Linked DNA regions of Homo sapiens: region 1 is linked to region 2. Evidence: promoter capture Hi-C in 16 types of primary human blood cells and fetal thymus (Javierre and others, 2016). All regions are on one chromosome and are shown on one strand. The core of a region is centred on a gene start or on the middle of the fragment in contact, and the rest is flanking DNA. Distances in the headings are between cores, read along the strand shown. Region 1 has its middle 66 kb from the start of ETS2-AS1. Region 2 holds the start of ETS2 (ETS proto-oncogene 2, transcription factor).

Region 1 (6,604 bases), core at 2,136-4,635, 67 kb after region 2:
CTTTAAAAAAACCTGAGATTTGTCTCTGGGTAAGTTAAATGTTCATTAAGTGATCACAGAAAGTAAAAGTTTGGGAAACTTTACCAGGAGCGTTTGGGGGAAGCAAACCCTGCGCAGATTTCCTTTGTTCTTGCAATAGCAGTTCCCTCTTGAGTGTGACTTGGGGCCCCTCAGTTGGCCCTGGGACATCTGCTCACTTTGGGACTCTTTGTGAACATTACTTGGGGAAGGAAGCACTGGGGGGAAGGAAGCACTGGGCTTGGGACAGGGCTGGGCGCTGCCTCTTCACTGGACCATGACAAGGTTGTTACCTCACCAAGGAGAGGTGCAAAAAGCTTAGGGGCTTGGATTTCTAGATTTCAGTGCCAACTATGCCACTTACTGGCTTTATCCTTGGGGAATTTATCTACTCTGTGACCCTCAGTTTTTTTATCTTAATTATTAATACATACCTCATAATGTGACTGTGAGGATTCACTTAATAATATATGGAAAACCATAGAATAGTGCCCAGCATCTAGGAAGTGCCACAGCCCCCTTCAGAAGCTAGTGAAACCTGCAGACCACTTTTCAGAGTGATATTATTATTTTTTTCTAGGTTTACTGAGTTATAATTGAAAAAATAAAAATGGAATATAGATGTACAACATGAAGCTCTGATGCATATATCCATTGTGAAATGATGACCACAATCAAGCTAATTAATGTTATCTATCACTTCACATAGTTCAACCTTTTTTTGTGGTGAGAGTACTGAAGATCTACTCTCTTAGCAATTTTCAAATCTAAAATACATTATTATTAACACAGTCACTGTGCCGTACGTTAGCTCTGAGGACCTTATTCATTTTATACCTAAAAGTCTGTATCCTTTAACCAACCTCTCCTAATTTCCCACTGTCATCCCTACTGCCACCTCTGGTAACCAGCCTTCTGCTCTGTTTCTGAGTCCAACCTTCTTAGATTCCACATATGAGTGAGATCATGCTGTGCAGTGTTTGTTTTTCTGTGTCTGGCTTGCTTTCACTTAGCATAATGTCCTCCAGGTCCACCCATGTTGTTGCAAATGGCAGAATCTTCTTCTTGTTAAAGACTGAATAATATCCCTGTGTGTGCGTGCATGTGTGTGTGTGTTTGTGTGTGTGTGTGTATCACATTTTCTTCATCCATTCATCCATCAATGGACACTAAGCACTAAGGTTGATTCCGTATCTTGGCTATTGTGAATAATGCTGCAATAAACATATGAGTCCAGATACCTCTTCAAGATACTGATTTCATTTCCTTTAAATATATGCCCAGAAGTGGGATTGCTGGATCATATGGTAGTTCTATATTTAGTATCTTGAGGAATTTCCATACTGTTTTTCATAATGATTGTAGCAATCTATATTCCCATCAACAGTGTACAAGGGTTCCATTTTCTACATGGCCTTACCAACGTTTGTTATCACTTATCTTTTTGATAATAGATATTCTAGCAGGTGTGAGGTGGTATCTCATTGTGGTTTTAATTTGCATTTTCCTGATGATTAGTGGTGTAGAGCATCTTTTCATATTCCCATTGGTAATTCGTATATCTTCCTTTGAGAAATATTTATTCAGATCTTTTGCCCATTGTTAGCTGAGTTATATGTGAGTTGGTTTTGGTTTGTTGTTGTTTTTTGTTTTTGCTATTGAGCTGAGTTCCTTGTATATTTTGGATATTAAATCCTTCTCAGCTGTATGGTTGACAGATACATTCTTGCATTCTGTAAGTTGCATCTGTAGGTTGCAACAGAGTCTCTTTACTCTGTTGATTGCTTGCTTTACTGTGTGAAAGCTTTTTTAGCTTGATGTAATTGTGTTTGTCTATTTTTGCTTTTGTTGCTTGTACTTTTAGTGTCATATCCAAAAAGTTATTGCCCAGACCAGTGTCATCCCCTATGTTTTCTTCTAGTAATTTTAAAGTTTCAGGTCTTATGTCTATGTCTTTAATCCATTTTGAGTTAATTTTTGTGTAGGGTTTAAGATAAGAATCCAATTTTATTTTTATTTTTTGTATATGGATATCCAATTTCCCCAACACCATTTATTGAAAATTCTATCCTTTCTTTGTTGTGTATTAACATCAGAATAATATTTTTAAATACATAAAATTCAGAAGATGACAAAGGAAACCAATTACATTGAAATGCATACAGAGTTATAATTCTGAAAGAGCAATATATGTGCCTCTTTGTAAACACATCATATATCAAACTGCAGTGACCGTTCTAACAACTATTGCAATTTCAAAGTCATGTTGAGTAGGAGGAGTACTTTGAGATTCTGAAACAACGTTCTTGTGCTATGAAATATCCATGATTTTGATTGGTGATGGTATCCCAGGTCTTGTTAATGCTGCTGTAATCTGTTGCTTCCATTCCATAGTTGAATAAAATGCTTGATATCTGTTGGAAATTAGTAAAAATAAAAACGTATTTTTTTCCATCCAAGTTCATTCTCAGACCCTGAAGAGTCACTTCTCTGGATTCTGCAGCAAAGTTCCCAGCTGGGGCAGCAAGATTTAGGCAATTGAAAAGAACATACACCTTGTTCTCAGTGGCAAACCACATGGAAAGCTTTAAATGTCAGAGAAGAATTCTGCCATTTTGCTGACTTTTTTGTAGTTCTCCTAATAAACAAGTGTTAAGTGACAAGCTTTTCAGAGGAGATAATTTTCTTCCAAGTGGTCTTTTTATTTACCTGAATATTAAGTTCAAAGACACTCTAGTCTCTCAAAGGAAACCTGTGGGTGGAGTGTTTTTTAAAATGTCAAATTCCAAACGAAGCTGAAGGGCACAGCCTCAAGAAGGTTCTGTGTTCACCAGTGCACAGGGACGTGTCAGCCCTTTATTGCCATTGTCTACATAACATTTTTCAAGTTCTCTGAGTTGTGAGGCTGTCAGTATGAAGACTCCTATTTTTTCTGCTATTAAATTTTTTTTTCCTCCAACTTTTTCTTTTTCTTTTTCTTTTCTTTTGAGATACAATCTCGCTCTGTCACCCAGGATACTGGAATGCAATGCAGCCTTGAACTCCCAGGCTCAAACAATCCTCCTGCCTCAGCCTCCAAAGTAGCTGGGACTACAGGCATGCACTGTGGTGTGGTTTGTCTCTGTGTCCCCACCCAAATCTCATGTTGCATTGTAATTCCCAGTGTTAGGGGAAGGGCCTGGTGGGAGGTGATTGGATCATGGGGGCAGATTTCTCCGTTGCTATTTTCGAGATAGTGAGTGAGTTCTCATGAGATCTGATGGCTTAAAAGTGTGTGGCACTTCCCCCCACCCCCTCTCTCCTGCCACCTTGTGAGGAATGTCCTTGCTTCTCCTTCACCTTCTGTCATGATTGTAAGTTTCCTGAAGCCTCTCAGTCATCTTTCCTGTACAGCCTATGGAACTTTGAGTTAATTAAACCTCTTTTCTTCATAAATTACCCAGTCTCAGGAGTTCTTCATAGCAGTGATGATGAATACACACCATCACACCCAGCTAATTTTTCTTTATTTTTTTAGTAGAGATGTGGTCTCACTATGTTGCCCAGGCTGTTCTCAAACTCCCGGGCTCAAGTGACCCGCCTACCTCGGCCTCCCAAAGTGCTGGTATTACAGGCGTGAGCTGCCGCACCCAGCCCTCCTCCAACTGCTGCTGGTTGCTATCATAGGTTCTCACTGGGTGTCCACCTAACATGTCCCTTCAGGAAGGCTGGTGTCCTGACATTCGGTAGCGGAGGCCTGGTGTTGAGCTCACCTGCATTTCTGCCCCCTTCTCTGGCTTTCTGGGGATGCCCTCCTCAACCTGAAAATGACTTCCAACTCCTCAGCACAGAAGTGGGCACGTGACCCAAGCAGGTCCAGGATTCCATAAGATCCCAAACACAAAGGATCCTGTAATCCTGGGGCTCCAGTGGCCGTCTTGTTCCTTTTGGAGAACTAACCTATTGCAGAGAAAGTAGTAGAGCTAAAAGAAAGAGAAAGAATCCTGATAGCATCTGTGACTCTGGATCCAGCTATCCATAAAGCGCCATACGCTAATGCGCTCAATTACCCAAGTCAATGAGTCCCCTTAGAAGCTTAAGGCAGTTTGATCTGAGTTTCTGCCACTTTCAGGAGGAAGAATCTTATTGGTATATTTTATAATAATCCGGCTGATATGCAAACTGTCTTCAATAGAATGCTCTGTCCAGAGTCACAGTGGAGTCCATCGCAACAAATAAGGTCAGACAGCTCACAGCTACAACTGGGCTCATGCCTTCCAAGTATCAAAGTCATAACAAACTTCCTCTGTGTGAGTCCACAAGGCATTCTTCCTCTGGGGGAATCACTCCCTTTCCATTGTCCTGATACTCCCTCTGTGGGGCTGTAGAGGAGTGCATGGCTTTTGCCCTACTTCCAAGCCTTCTCAGGGAACACAGCAGGGACAAAGAGCTGAAGGCTCAGCCTTGGCCATGGCCCATCAGGCCCACTGCAGGCTTCTCCTGGGAGAAGATCCAGAGCCTCGGGCTCTGGGCTCCCATATGCAGGGAGAACCTCCGACCACAGAAATTGGAAGGAGCTACCACTGCCTAGGAGACATCTTCCCTTGAGCTTTTTCAAGGGCTGAACAAACAGAGCCCACACTTGTTCACGGAATCCATGGGCCTCAGCACATCAGAGAGAGGAGAAGAAATTGACCCAGAGTGTAACCCACCCCCATCTTCGGGCCCCACCAAGAATTGTCAGTGATGCCAGAGGAAGAGGCACCTAATTCAACAGATCAATGGAGACTCACATCACCCACAAGCACCACTTATCTGCTATTTCATCCCACACCAGTACCTGATCATCAACCGTTGCAAACACTCATTGCTGTAATTGTATCATTAGTTTCAATCACAGCCAATTTGGGGCTGGCATGTGAATATCCTTTTCTGTTCCCACTGCTGATGAAATTTCAGAATTATAAGGTGAATGAAACCTAGTAGATTAAAGTAATTGTGAAACTGATGCTAAAGAACAGTCCTGTTCCCCATGCCGCCTAAACATGTAATTTCAGACATCAAACAGAATCTTTAAGCTGAAATAAAATCTCTACTTAGTCTAGCACCATTGTATTCTCTGTATGGGATGAAGGCAGCTCTTACCCCATCTATTAAGATTTATTATTAAAATTGCCTGGGGGCCGGGCGCGGTGGCTCACGCCTGTAATCCCAGCACTTTGGGAGGCCGAGGCGGGCGGATCACGAGGTCAGGAGATCGAGACCATCCTGGCTAACACGGTGAAACCCCGTCTCTACTAAAAATACAAAAAATTAGCCGGGCGAGGTGGCGGGCGCCTGTAGTCCCAGCTACTCGGGAGGCTGAGGCAGGAGAATGGCGTGAACCCCAGGGGGCGGAGCCTGCAGTGAGCCGAGATTGCGCCACTGCACTCCAGCCTGGGCGACAGCGAGACTCCGTCTCAAAAAAAAAATAAAAAATAAAAAATAAAATAAAATAAAATTGCCTGCGAATTAAAAAAATACATTTTTTCCCTTGGCAAAGTCAGCACCTAGCTATCTCAGTTAACTCTCTGGAGGAGAAAAAGGGGAACAGTGGTTGTGAAATTTGAGACTTGCAAGAGTGCCCAGGACTGCCTAGGCATAGACTAGACTGTTCCACCTAAATACTCCCATAGAAAATGCCCTAGGTGAAGTCTCCAGGTGCAGTTTTCAGAGCAAGGCCCTCACCCAGTTCTTCAGGTTCCATAATACATTAGTGACCACACTAAATCTTAAAGTCCTTGCCATCAGTTGACATAAAAGTCCAGTGAGAACTCTGGCCTTACCAGTGAAGACTAAGCCCCAAGAAAGCTGTGTGAGCTGTTGTATGTTGAGTCAGCCTCCAGCCAGTCTTCTACCCATTGCTAGAATAACAAATCAAGTCTCCTCCTTCAACTGGGACTCATGTGATCGTCACCCTCCTTGAAAGACAGCCCTGTCCTAACCCCCTCCAGAGCTGCCACATCCCTGGTCCCCAAACAATCAAGTGAGGAGGGAAGGCTACTGGCCACCCACAAGGCCCTGAAAGTACAGCGTGTTGACTCAGGAATAATCCAAGCCTATGGCAGGAGGAACAGGACTTTATGGAAGCTGGGAGACTGAAGAAGGAGTCACCATGGCAACCAGCTCTCCAGCTTTCATTCTCCTCCCCATCACTTGATCCAGACATTCTCCTTCCAGATCATAAGGCCTGACATCCATCCACTTCCTATCATGTGGTCACAGGCAGATCTCTCTACCCACTGGCAAAAAGTGGGCTGATGGAAATGAGCATTGGGTGCATGGTGCTTGGACTGGGTTTCATAGTTATCGCTCCAAAATCCATGGCCTCTTCGGAACCTCAGAATGGGACCTTATTTGGAAAAAGGGTCTTTACAGATGTAATGAGTTAGTATAACATCATTCTGAATCAAAGTGGGCCCTAAATCCAATGACTGGTGTCCTCTATAAGGAAAGAAAACAGAGACACAGAGACACACAGGGAAGAAGCCAAGTGAAGGCCAACGCAGAGGTTGGAGGGATGGAGCAACAAGCCGAGGAATGCCAAGGACTGCAGCAACCACCAGGA
Region 2 (6,662 bases), core at 1,084-3,583:
GACCAGGGACCTGGGTGGGAGGCAGGAGCTTAGGCTTACGATGACCCCAGCACACAGGCCCAGCTTCCTCTTCCCACAGCCTCCCTGCCGTCTTAGCTCTGCCATTTGGTCTTCCGGCCGGGATCCCTTTCCCAAGGCTTTCACACATTTAAACCCGCGAGGGGCAGGACTTTTTTTTTTTTTTTCGTGTATATGATAGTTTTTTCAAAATGTTTTCTATAAAATCCTCCCTGAGGAGAGCTTGGAAAAAGATTCTTAATAGCTAGATCATTTTGAGTCCTTCTCTACCATGTACTCAACACTCTAACATATTCTGCACATTTGGTTCTATGTCATTTGCCATAGTCTTAAGGACGTAGGTTCCATAATCATCCCTTATTCTGTAGAGGAGGCCCAAGGTTAGTGAGCAGAGGAAGGTTCCACTGTCGGGAACCGGTGGTCTTCAAACTCCTGTGCTCCTCTTTTGATATCTTTCTGCTCATATATGTTGGAAACAGCCCAGCATGAGCAAAGCACCACCTCCTAGCCCCCAGCCTGTGCCAGCCCTGCAAAGAGGAAATATGGCTCCACTCAGGGAGCCCATCAGCGACTCAGGGAGCCCTGGAGCACCTGGCACTCAGCACCCATGAACACGAGGGCAGGCATGGTGGGACAAGGCAGTCTGCTTGGGGCAAGTGAGCTTCGGGAAGTAGCTGAGCTTTGGGGAGCAGCTGTCTATACCCAGCTTCTCAGGGCTGTGCAAGTAGCCTGAGGGAGAAAGACCCTATATTAGCTGAAACTGCAGCCCAGATGAGTCAGTATTTTCTGCTACGGTTTTTTAAAAAAATAGTAACATACTCATGTCTCCATGGTAACTTACTATGGATCTGTATTCCATTTATGGAACTCTTTCTTGACCTATCTGTGTTCTCTAATCTGGGCCTGAATATACACTGAGAAGCCATCAGAATCAATTCAGTCTCCAAGAAATAATCACTTCCCCTATACGTGATTGTTTCAGCCGTATAGATTCTGACTGTGACTCATGCCACGGTGATACCCGGAGACCTTCGGGGACCCAGAAACATTAAGGTGCACCGATATCTCAATTATCCGGATAACTCTAGACCTAGAGTCACCATGGAAACCTAGAACCCTGAGTCACAGAGAAGCTGGGCCATTCCTCTCCCTTCCCGGTGGTGCCGCAGTTCTTGAGATGTGAGCAGCTTTCAGCCCCGTGGCCTCGCCTAAGCTGGGGTTTCCTATTTCATCCACAACTTCAGGAATCTAAACTTTCCTGCAAAATATTGAGCATGTGACCTGAGTCCAAACAGCCATGGACTCAAGCACCTTCTGATAAAAACGGAAACCACAGTGTAGGGGGTGGTTTTGACCAGGGTTTCGGAGTCAGATAAACTCAGGTTTCCACCTTGAATTTCTCATCAATCTGACGTGGCAGGTTATTCATCCTAAGGTTCAGTTCCCACCTGTGTAAAGTGGGAGCCGCAAGTCCTCCGAGAGTGACGATGATGTGCGTGGAGTGCCCAGCCCAGATTGAAGCGCGGCCAAGGCGGGTCGCTATCTGGGCACCGCTCAGCTCCAGAGGGCGCCACTCCCGCGGAGCCTGCGGGATCGGGGCTTCCCGGGAGCAGCGCGATCAGCACCACGACTCGGGGACACAGCCAGGGCCCGGTTTCTACAGGAAGCGCCTCATTTGGAGCCTTTTTGTGATAGAATGATCATTAGTCCTAAGCCCATTCAGAGGTTCAAGAATGGGGTCGGCTCAATTTCAGGGCCTTATTACCCAAGCCCGGCTGCCCTTCGGTGCCACCAGCACCACTGCTCCGTCGCTGCGGAATTCCAAAGGCAGGTTTGGCGTTAGGGCCTTGGCCCCAGAGAGGACGCCGAGCGCTCCACGGAAAGTCTCCGCCCGGCTCCCAGGGCGCACACTCGCGCGCACGTGGGGCCGAGGCCCTGCTCCCGGGGCCTCAGGGCCAGCCGGCGAGGGACCCAGCCGAGTGACAGCAGGAGGCGGAGGGAAGGTTGGGCCGGAAGGTGTCAGCCCCGCCCCGCGCTCCCTCGCCGCCTCCGCCCTCCTCTTCTCTCCCCTCGTGCGTTCCCTCTCCTCTCCCTCCGCTCCCCCAACCCTCCTGCTGCCCCCTTCCCTCTCCTCCCGCTTCTCCCCATCCTGCCTACCTCCCTTCCCCTCCTCTTCTCTCTCCTCCCCTTCCCTCCCCTCTCTCTTCTCTCCTCCCTCGTTTCCTCCCCTCCCCTCCACTCGGCCGTCCCTCCTTCCTCCTCCCTCCTCCCTCCTCCTCCCGCTCCTGAAGAGCGCGCCGCGTGGGGGACGGCCCGGTTACTTCCTCCAGAGACTGACGAGTGCGGTGTCGCTCCAGCTCAGAGCTCCCGGAGCCGCCCGGCCAGCGTCCGGCCTCCCTGATCGTCTCTGGCCGGCGCCCTCGCCCTCGCCCGGCGCGCACCGAGCAGCCGCGGGCGCCGAGCAGCCACCGTCCCGACCAAGCGCCGGCCCTGCCCGCAGCGGCAGGGTAAGAGCTGGGCCCGCAGAGAGCGCCCGGCGCGCGGCTCCAGTCCCATGGAGGGTCACCCGGGGCCTGGGCGGGGGTCGCGGGGGGCACTGACACGCAGATCTCGGGGCGCTGCCGGGGGTGCAGGTGGGGGTGGCGGCTGCTGCGAGGACTCTAGGGGCGCGCGTCTGAGTTCCGCGCCGGCTCGTTTTCCGGTTATGGAGTGGCCTCCGGGGCTGGCGGGGTCGGCCGGGGGGTTCCTGCGTGCTAGGGCCGCTGTCTTCGGGGTCGCCTAGCGGCGGGCGCGGCCAGGGCGCGCTGGCTTGTTTCGCTCGCTTTTGTTTTTAAAAGGAAACGCAGGCCTGGTAGGGGGTCCTGCCCAGTGGATGTCCCGGCGAACATGATTTCGCGAACGGGAGTGGGGGCACAGGAGAGCGTGTCCGAGGTGGCCTGGCGCCCCGGCTTTGAGGGTGACTTCCTGGAGCGGCGCCGGGCCCGGAGGATCTGGGGCGCCCAAGACACCTGAAGGCTGCGGCACCGCGGGAACCTGCGGGGCGCGGGGTGCCATGGTCACCTGCTCGCCGCGTCCAGGGCCCGGGCTGGGGACCCCTCGGTCGTGCGAGGAGAGCGTGGGGAACCTGTCGGAAATGAGATCTGGTTGCGCTGGGCTGCCTTTATTTTCTCGTTCCTACAGCATTTGAATGAAGAGGTAACTGAGTGTTTGCTTGTGTGTGTTTGGGTTGCGTGTGTGTTATCCTATTTTATTTTTTACGGCAGGAGACCTTTTATGTTAGCCTGTACACAATTTCAGGGTAGCCTAAAACAGTAGTTGACGCGCTAGTTATTTAGAAAGTAAAGAAATGAGCAGTCCCCTTTGGAGACAGGAGTAATTTATTTTAATTCGCCAGTAAGAGATTATATTTGTTCCATACAATGGAAGCGCCTGTGCGTTATCTGCCTGCCCACACCACCACCAATCAGAGAGATAAATCTCCACGTTAAGCTTTATTAAAATTCTGAGTAGTAGCGCAGCACAGTAAATGTTAGCACCGACCATCCGCAGGGAAATGCTCAGATACTCATTTCTGGGATTAGTCATTCATCTCTCTAAACTGATCGCTTTCAAAGCGAAAAAAGCAAACTACCTTCAAATGTGTGTTACAAGGTTGTGTTGTTTCTTTTTTTTGTTTGTTTTCAAATTTATCTAAATAATCTTACATAAGTGATTACTTGTTCCAATAAGGGTACTGTTGTCAGGCAAATTCTCCTTGTTTTTAAATGTAACCATTCTCAGCTGTTACATTTCTGCTCTTTATCCTTTTTTTTTTTTTTTTTTGGTTTAAAAGCAGCGATCCATCAGCAACACCAAACTTGAAATTGATTTATGTGGAAAAACTTGGCTTGTCTGCCATCTAACAAGCCCTGTTGAGTAAAATAAGCAAGCTTAAATTTGATTAGTTGTGTGTCTGCCTGAAACCATTTAGTAGAGCACTTTAATTCTGCATGGTTTTTACAAAACTCATTAAAAGCTGGACAACAAAAGAATTCTATTCTGTAGCTAGTAATTACAGCTCTTTATGTGGGAGTGGTAGGCTGCCTTTTCTCCTGGTATTTGTACACAAAAGCTGGGGAGAGCTTTTCCACTGCCTTCCACATTCATTCTCTGTCCATCTCAGAGAAGCTGAAAAACAGAATCAAGTCAGCAAGCAGTCTGCAAGCCTAAGGAAGAAAAAGAGCTGACCCATCCGGCTCTGGATGGATAACTGGCAACACCCAAGATGTCTATGATTTTGGCCTTCTGTTTGAGGCTTGTTTATTTCTTTAATCAGCAGCTACCAGGACTTATTTCATGCAGAGAAATGACATAAAGCTCTAGAGGAAGGAGCATTTCACATTGGAAGGAGTAGTGAGAAGGGCCTGATCTGATAATATCAGGATGGGTGGGAAGGGTCCATTCCTCATCATTCATGTTCTCCCGGCACAGAGGACTGTGTGGAGGACTCAGGATTTAGGACCATACTCAACTGGGGTTTGATCTCCACTTTGCCCTGCGGTGGCCCCTCTGGTAGCTATGTGGATCCTGGGCAGATTGTCCATGTTGCTGGGCCTCCGTTGCTTCACTGTATGACGTCTGCCTCTCAGGGATGCAGGAAGATTCAATTAGGTAGGAGTGGATGGTCCCCCAGCACGGGGCTTAGCTCTTAGTAACTAGGCATTCTGGCAATGGCAGCCATCAATAGGAGAGACTATTGATTGTTGAGTGAATATAAGTGGCATAATCCACCAAGTGGAGATTCTGAGTGAATGTGGCCACTTTGGACCCAAGACTGCTGCCCCTCTCTGTCCTCTCATAGGACTATTATTTATTGCCAGTGCTGACCAGCCTTTGTTGGCTACCATGATCATTACCTGCACTCCGAGTGTTTTAACAGAATTTTCTGATGCCTCTGGCCTCACCTGCTGCCTTTTAGCCAAGAGGGGTGTGTGTGTATGTGTGTGTGTGTGTGTGTGTGTGTGTTGGGTGTGTGTTGGGTAGCAGGGTTCTTGGAAGGTCTGGTTTAGCCATAATGTTGATCATAAAGAGAAAACAAGAAAATAAATGCAAATTAAATAGTTCGGTGAGCCTTTGTTATTTCGCCACATCCAGTAAGTTCTATCAGTTGAATGTTGTCTGAATTACTTAAAAAGTTCTCAGTTGTAAACAGGTAAGAGCACCCAGTGGAGGCCATGGAGCTAGGCTTAGAGCTTTGCCACCAGCCTTCAGTTCCATAGCCATGAACCTGGGAGGGCAAGGAATCACCCTAGAGGTGAAGGCCATTCATCGGTGCTAACCCAAGGTCTCTGAAAATGAGTTTTAGTTACTCTATTATCTAAGTATCTTTCTTACTGATATGTAACTTACCTGGCTGAACAATTACATTTTAGAGCTCCAAATAAATTTTCAGCCTATTATGTCATTGTCCAATTACAAGCCTCATTGTAATAGCCATGTTAAAAACAATAAAGCCGGTGAAATTGATTTCAGTGTATTTCAAATTAACCTAATATATTCGAAATATTATGTATGTATAAAAATTATTGAGCTTTTTTCTTTTTTCCACTAAGTCTTTGAGAGCTAGTGTGTATGTGTGGATTTGTACTAGCCACTGGTTGAGAGCTCTGTAGCCACACATGGCAAGTGGGTACCATATTGCTTAGCCCAGGCCTAGTAGAAGATTAAGACTCAGTCAGAGGAAGTAAGGCAGATCCGTGCTTGGAATCAGTTCCTCTTGAAGAAGTGCACAGCCAAGCAACACACAAAGCAGAAATATTTTGAGCTCTGTATTCAAAGCAGGAAGATCTGGGACCATGTAAGGGGGTTTGGTCTTCAGTTCTCCCTTTGATCCCTTCCCTGGGTGTGTGCTTTCTTACAGCCTGGAGAGTGGAAGGGAAGAGAGGGGGCTTCCTGGACTCCTTTCCTGTCTCTAGAAATGACCCCTGCAGCTGTCCTGAAGCTCTCAGGTTAAGCTGATTGTGTCCAGAGCAGACAGGAGGCGGCCCACTGCCCCACTGTACCCACCCAAGCACTCACCTAAGCTGGCCATGGAAATGTGAATGAAAAGCCTGACCCAGGCCCTCTTGCCCTGCTAACCCAGCAAGGAGGCTCTGACCAGCCAGCCAGCAAGTGACTTTTTCTGTGACATCTAAGTGGAATTCAGTGAGGAATCAGCATTATTATTCAATCACTGAAACAGCATATCCCATTGTGATACTGAGAAATGCTTTCCTCTTGAGACCTTTGGGAGGACAGCCATTTAAACAAGAATTCCCTGCATTCACTTTTGAATTACCTGTTAGCTGTAGAACTCAGCCAGGATCAAGTCTTGATGCCACCAATGATGAGTTTAGTGTACTTAATCTTTTGCCTCTTTGACTTTTTTTTTTTCTTTTTTAAGATGAATGATTTCGGAATCAAGAATATGGACCAGGTAGCCCCTGTGGCTAACAGTTACAGAGGGACACTCAAGGTGAGTGGGCAAGTCTTAATTTTTTTTTTTAATTGGAAAACTCGATCTCTAGGAGGAAAGAAAAAAAAGGCCTGGGTCCCAGAAAACTGGTTGTAGCCCTAGCTTCTTAATTTATTGGCCATGTGACTATAGACTATTTGCTTACTTGCTC

What was found. The method cuts DNA at HindIII sites, captures the fragments that hold promoters and counts their contacts. A CHiCAGO score of 5 or more calls a contact.
Region 1: a contact is called between a fragment that was not itself captured here and the fragment with the promoter of ETS2 in region 2, in 1 of 17 cell types (monocytes). The highest score is 5.4, in monocytes.

Annotation. Positions count from the first base shown.
Region 1 is chr21:38,869,163-38,875,766 of GRCh38, forward strand. No RefSeq gene overlaps it. Among named protein-coding and RNA genes, the nearest start is that of ETS2-AS1, 66 kb to the right of the region's middle. The HindIII fragment of the contact is 1,410 bases long and covers 2,681-4,090 here.
Region 2 is chr21:38,803,596-38,810,257 of GRCh38, forward strand. It overlaps ETS2 (ETS proto-oncogene 2, transcription factor), which reads left to right and starts at 2,334. Exons shown (of 10, transcript NM_005239.6): 1 at 2,334-2,525; 2 at 6,440-6,511. The coding sequence starts at 6,440. RefSeq lists enhancers at 1,133-1,633, 1,167-1,306, 1,487-1,546, 1,557-1,716 and silencers at 1,827-2,156, 2,177-2,246, 2,437-2,726, 2,837-2,936, 2,957-3,056. The HindIII fragment of the contact is 4,522 bases long and covers 1-3,505 here.